Regions from separate parts of the Homo sapiens genome. Here region 1 is linked to region 2. The links are contacts of gene promoters, found by promoter capture Hi-C in human tissues and cell types (Jung and others, 2019). All regions are on one chromosome and are shown on one strand. Each heading gives the region's core, a stretch centred on a gene start or on the middle of the fragment in contact. The rest is flanking DNA. Distances are from core to core; before and after follow the strand shown. Region 1 overlaps NFATC3 (nuclear factor of activated T cells 3). Region 2 holds the start of PSKH1 (protein serine kinase H1).

What was found. The method cuts DNA at HindIII sites, captures the fragments that hold promoters and counts their contacts. A contact is called where the count stands out against the background at its distance.
Region 1: a fragment that was not itself captured here is called in contact with the fragment with the promoter of PSKH1 in region 2 in 1 of the 25 tissues and cell types used here (spleen).

The regions. Positions count from the first base shown.
Region 1 is chr16:68,203,464-68,206,163 of GRCh38, forward strand. The region is part of intron 9 of NFATC3 (nuclear factor of activated T cells 3); the gene reads left to right. Among named protein-coding and RNA genes, the nearest start is that of MIR6773, 29 kb to the right of the region's middle. The HindIII fragment of the contact is 4,485 bases long and covers 1-2,700 here.
Region 2 is chr16:67,891,945-67,894,644 of GRCh38, forward strand. PSKH1 (protein serine kinase H1) reads left to right here and starts at 1,310. Exons shown (of 3, transcript NM_006742.3): 1 at 1,310-1,427. RefSeq lists silencers at 1,047-1,106, 1,437-1,556. The HindIII fragment of the contact is 8,725 bases long and covers 1-2,700 here.

The DNA of each region.
Region 1 (2,700 bases), core at 20-2,519, 310 kb after region 2:
TCTATAAAAAATACCAGAATTAGGCCGGGTGTGGTGGCGTGTGCCTATAGTCCCAGCTACTCGAGAGGCTGAGGTGGGAGGATCGCTGGAGCCTGGAAGGCAGAGGTTGAAATTAGCAGAGATCATGCCACTGCACTTCAACTTGGGCGACAGAGTGAGACCCTGTCTCAAAATAAATAAAATGCAATTAAAAATATAATTTATACATAAGCTAGGAAAAGTCCAAGAGAGGCTACCACTAAAGCAGCATATCAGAAGTCTTCAAACTAAGTTCCCCTCAAAATGTGTATTTAAAAATAGTTAATGGCTGGGCGCGGTGGCTCGTGCCTGTAATCCCAGCACTTTGAAAGACCGAGATGGGAGGATCATTTGACATCAGGAGTTCAAGACCAGCTTAACCAACATGGTGAAACTTCGTCTCTACTAAAAACAGTAAAAATTGGGCCAGGCACAGTGGCTCATGATTGCAATCCCAGCACTTTGGGAGGTCGAGGCAGGCGGATCACTGGAGGCCAGGAGTTTGACACCAGGCTAGCCAACATGGTGAAACCCCGTCTCTACTGAAAATACAAAAATAAGCCGGGTGTGGTGGCACACATCTGTAATCTCAGCTACTTGGGAGGCTAAGGCAGGAGAATCGTTTGAACCTGGGAGGCAGAGGTTGCAGTGAGCTGAGATGGTGCCACTGCACTCCAGCCTGGGCGACAGAGCAAGACTCCATCTCCAAAAAAAAAAGAAAATAGTGAAAATTAGCCACGCATGGTGGTGAACGCCTGTAATTTCAGCTACTCATGAGGCTGAGGCAGGAGAATCACTTGAACCTGGGAGACAGAGGTTGCAGTGAGCTGAGATCAGGCCACTGCACTCCAGCCTGGGCAGCAGAGTGATACTCTGTCTCAAAAATACAAAAAATGGTAATGAATTATGGTTACTGTTTCTTGATAAACTCATATTTTTTTTGAACACTGTGCTAGGCACTTTGCTAGTGGCTCATTAATTCTTTGCAATCATGTGTGAAATGTGAATTATTAGTCTTAATTTTGTATAGATGTGGCTCAGAGACCTTAAGCACATCCCAGCGTTATATGGCCACAAATAATTGGGGCAGACATTTGAATCCAGATTTGTCTGAAATGTAGATTTTCTCACATGTGTTTTTAGTGGCTTCTAAAATAGCTATAATTGATTACTTATATAATCTCGCTTTCGTAAAGACAATAGCATTGTAACTTTCTAATGTGCTGCCATGTGTAAGATAGCAAAACCTGTCTTAAAGATGTATTCTATTTTAAAATTGATATCCTTTTTTTGAGTTCCTTCGAAGACAGATTATTCACAGGAACAAAAAGATTTTTTAATGAGAGATAAATTGTTTAATTTTAGGTTCAGCAGTTGAACAAGCTTTTTGTGGTTTGGTGGCAGTTTTCTGCCTTGGCATTACAAGGTTACCTCTTGCTAACAATCATAGCTTTTGATAGACTTAGATAAATGTGTTCAAACAGCTTTTCTCTGTTTGAAGATGCCTGGCTCTTTTTTTTTTTTTTTTTTAAAGACATTTCCAAAGCCTACAGTTAGTGTCTCCATCTGGGCAAGAGACAACATGTGAAAGTCTCATTTATGCTGGAAGATAGGGTAGGGTTGAGAGTGATGGTTACAAGCATTTTAACTTTACATCTACAAGAGTGTGGTACAGATTAAGTCCTTGATAATCATGTTGTATATTTAAAAACATCTATAGATGATTTTATGTAGAATGGGAATTTTAACATTTTAAATGTGTTTATTTCTTTGGTGGGGGAACGGAGACAGGAGTTTGCTCTGTTGATCAGGCTGGAGTGCAGTGGGACCATCATGGCTCACTGCAGCCTCGACCTCCCAGGCTCCAGCATTTCTCTCCCACCTCAGCCTCCCGAGTAGCTGGGGCTACAGGTGCCTGCCACCACATCCGGCTAATTTTTAAATTTTTTTGTAGAGGCAGGCTTTTACTACGTTGCTCAGGTTGGTCTCGGCCTCCCAAAGTGCTAGGATTACAGGCGTGAGCCACCATGCCTGGCCTGTGTTTCTTAATATAATCATTTTTTGAACAAGTAATATGTTCATGTGGTTTAAAATGCTAAAGTTACAACATTATACATAGTTAAAAAAAATCTGTCTTCTAAGTAGATACTCCATTGTCCTCTGTAGGGAGAATTGGAGTTACTAGTTTCTTGGCTGTCATTCTATGCATTTATAAACAGTTGCATTTTTTTCCCCTTATTTTTACTAGCATATTATGTATACTAGTTTATACTTTGCATTTCCCATGTAATATAGAATCTTGAGAGATTATTCTATACTGTAACATAAAAGAGCTTCCTTGAAAAGATATTCTTAAAATAGAATATTCCATAAAATATTCTATAAAATACTGCTTTGAATATTTGCACCACTATCTTTTTTTCTTTTTTTTTTTGAGATGGATTCTCGCTCTACTGCCCAGGCTGGAGTACAGTGGCACCATCTCGGCTCACTGCAACCCCCACCTCCCAAATCTATGATCTCTTTCATATTTGCTTACTTTTCTATTAGATTGTTGATCCTTCCTCTTACTGATTTATAGAAGCCCTTTGTTAGGTGCATTAGCTCATTGAGGTATGAGTTGAATGTATCCAGATTTATAAATTTTAAAAGAGGGATTTACAAAAGTCCTCTAAGTCTTGC
Region 2 (2,700 bases), core at 60-2,559:
TGTAATCCCAGCTACTCGGGGAGGCTGAGGCAGGAGAATTGCTTGAACTTGGGAGGCAGAGGTTGCAGTGAGCCGAGATTGTGCCATTGCACTCCAGCCTGACAACAAGAGCGAAACTCCATCTCAGGAAAAAAGAAAAGAAAGAAACCTTACTACATAAAATAGACAACAATTTTTTTTTTTTTTTTGAGACGGAGTCTCACTCCATCGCCAAGGCTGGAGTGCAGTGGTGCAATCTCAGCTCATTGCAACCTCTGTCTCCCAGGTTGTAGCTATTCTCCTGTCTCAGCCTCCCGAGTAGCTGGGACTACAGGAGCCTGCCACCAAGCCTGGCTAATTTTTGTATTTTTAGTAGAGACAGGGTTTCACCTTGTTGGTCAGACTGGTCTCAAACTCCTGACTTCAGGTGATCCACCTGCCTTGGCCTCCCAAAGTGCTGGGATTACAAGTGTGAGCAGTGGCGCCCAGCCGACGACAATGTTTTATTGGTGTTAATTTATTTTTAGGTTTAAAGTATAACATTAGCTTATACAGTCAATCAAAGACAGTTCCATGTGCAAAGTACATACTCAATAAAGATTTGAATACAGAGCTACTGAAATGGGGAAGATGGATGGAGGTTACAATGCACTTACCATCTGCAGCACCTATTTTAACCCCTCCAAGTTGGGTTGACTGTAAAGTGAACCAGTTCTGATCCTATAGAGAAGTCATTGTGAATGGTAACAATTTTTTAAAAATCCGCTTGCTTTTCAGACTCGGCATATAAATTAAATTAACAACAACAAATAACCATGAGTCCAGAAGTTGGCCCAAGATTGACTTCACCTATCTACAAATTAACCCTTTGCATCTCTTCTTTGATGGAGGCCAAATTCAACACATGGAGTGTTGAAATTATTCTAAGTGCAGTTTTAAAAAATAGATTTTGTTAATGAAAATTAAGTCTATCCTTTGCGGAGTTCCAGAGGCACTTCCAGAAACCTCTGTTGGAAAGCATTGTTTACCCAAGCTCGCATTACAGAGTCCCCTTTCCCCCAACCAGAAACTTGAAACTTTCTCCCTATTTCCCGCGATCCTTCCTTTTTCTATCACCGACCCGTCTCGCAGGCAGCGGTCAAGTTACTTTGAGCGACAAATAGACCCACCCCTTCAGGAGAGTGCCCGTCCCCGCCCCGAAGAGGTTGATTGGCAGGCCACGCTCGGAGATCCGCCAGCCGCGTAGCCCAGTTTCGGGAGAGTCCGCCCCCGACCCGCCCCCGACCCGCCCCGTAGGCTTGTTTTGGCGTCAGCTGCGCGCTGTGATGACGCCACGACGCTAACGCCCGAGAATGGCGGCGGCGGCGGCGGCGGCGGCGGCCGCTGCCATTGCCCGGAGATGGCCGGCAGAGCCGCCGAGACGCCGAAGAGCCCGCCGCCCGCGCGAGGTGAGGCGGCCCGGCCCAGGACGACGGCCCGACGGGCGGGAGGGGCAGCCGAACTGTGGTCGTGGTCGCTTTCTGGCGCTCCGGGGCCTGCCCCTGGTCAGCCTGCAGCGTCGGCCCGTGCCCCGTGCGCCAGGGCCTACAGGGTTGGAGAGCAGGCCGGGCGATGGCTGCTCGGGTTCCCGGCGTCCGAGTCTGGACTGGCCTCGGAACGTGCTGTCGTGCTGGATAGCCCGTCTCCAGGCCCGCTTGGGCCTGGTGGACGTGGTCGGTTGCCCTGCCTGCTTGCTGTTCAGCCGCCCCGCGTCCAGAGCGGGTCAGGTTGATCCAACCTGGTTGTCCTTGTCCTTACTGCCTTCTCGCGCCCGGCGCCTACTCCACACCCCTCCTTTGCGTCTGCCAGGGGCCGGCGGGGCAGCTGATCGCTTCCTTGTGCAGGCTGGGAAATAGCAGGTCTGAGTCCAGCTGGGTTGCTTGCTTGGCAAGCTTGTCATTCCTCTACCTGCAAGGGGAAGCCTAGTCCCCCACACTTAGTCCCCCTCCATAAAGCGGCTGAAGTGATAATTCCCACCTGAAAATCTGAGTAAGTCCTTCACTGCCTGAAACTAGTTCCTTAGTGCCTTCAGGACAAAGGCCGCACTTCTTAGCAAGGCATTCAGGGCTCTTCGTAATCTGGTGAAGGTTTAACCAGCCAATCAACACCGGAGCACTTCTGTGCTCCCTTTACGTAGTTTATTGTTGTTAAAACGTGTGGCGCTCCTGTTAGCTCTGGTTTCATACCTTTGTGTTTTAGTATTACTAATTTTGAGACAAGGCCTCTATTGCCCAAGCTGGAGTGCAATGGCTCATTCATAGCTCACTGCAGCCTTGAACTCCTGGACTCAAATGATCCTCCCGCCTCAACCTCCCGAGTAGCTGAGACAAGAGGCACTCCCCTCCACGCCTGGCTAAGTTTAAAATTTTTTGTAGAGCCAGGGAGTCTGGCTTTGTTGCCAGAGCTGGCTTCAAGAGACCCTCCTGCCTAGGCTCCTAACATATTGAGATTATTAATACAAGCGTGAGCCACTGTGCTTGGTCCCCTTGTGCTTTAGATAACGCAGTTTTCTCAGTTTGCTATACACTGCCTTCCACCCCACCGACCACCTACCAGTGTTGGAAACTTACATCTGTCCTATAAAATCCACCTGAGATGTCACTTCCTAGGAAAAAAATCTACCTTGCTTGGCATGTAACCATTAACTCCTCTATATCCATGCTGCTACTATTGAGTACATCC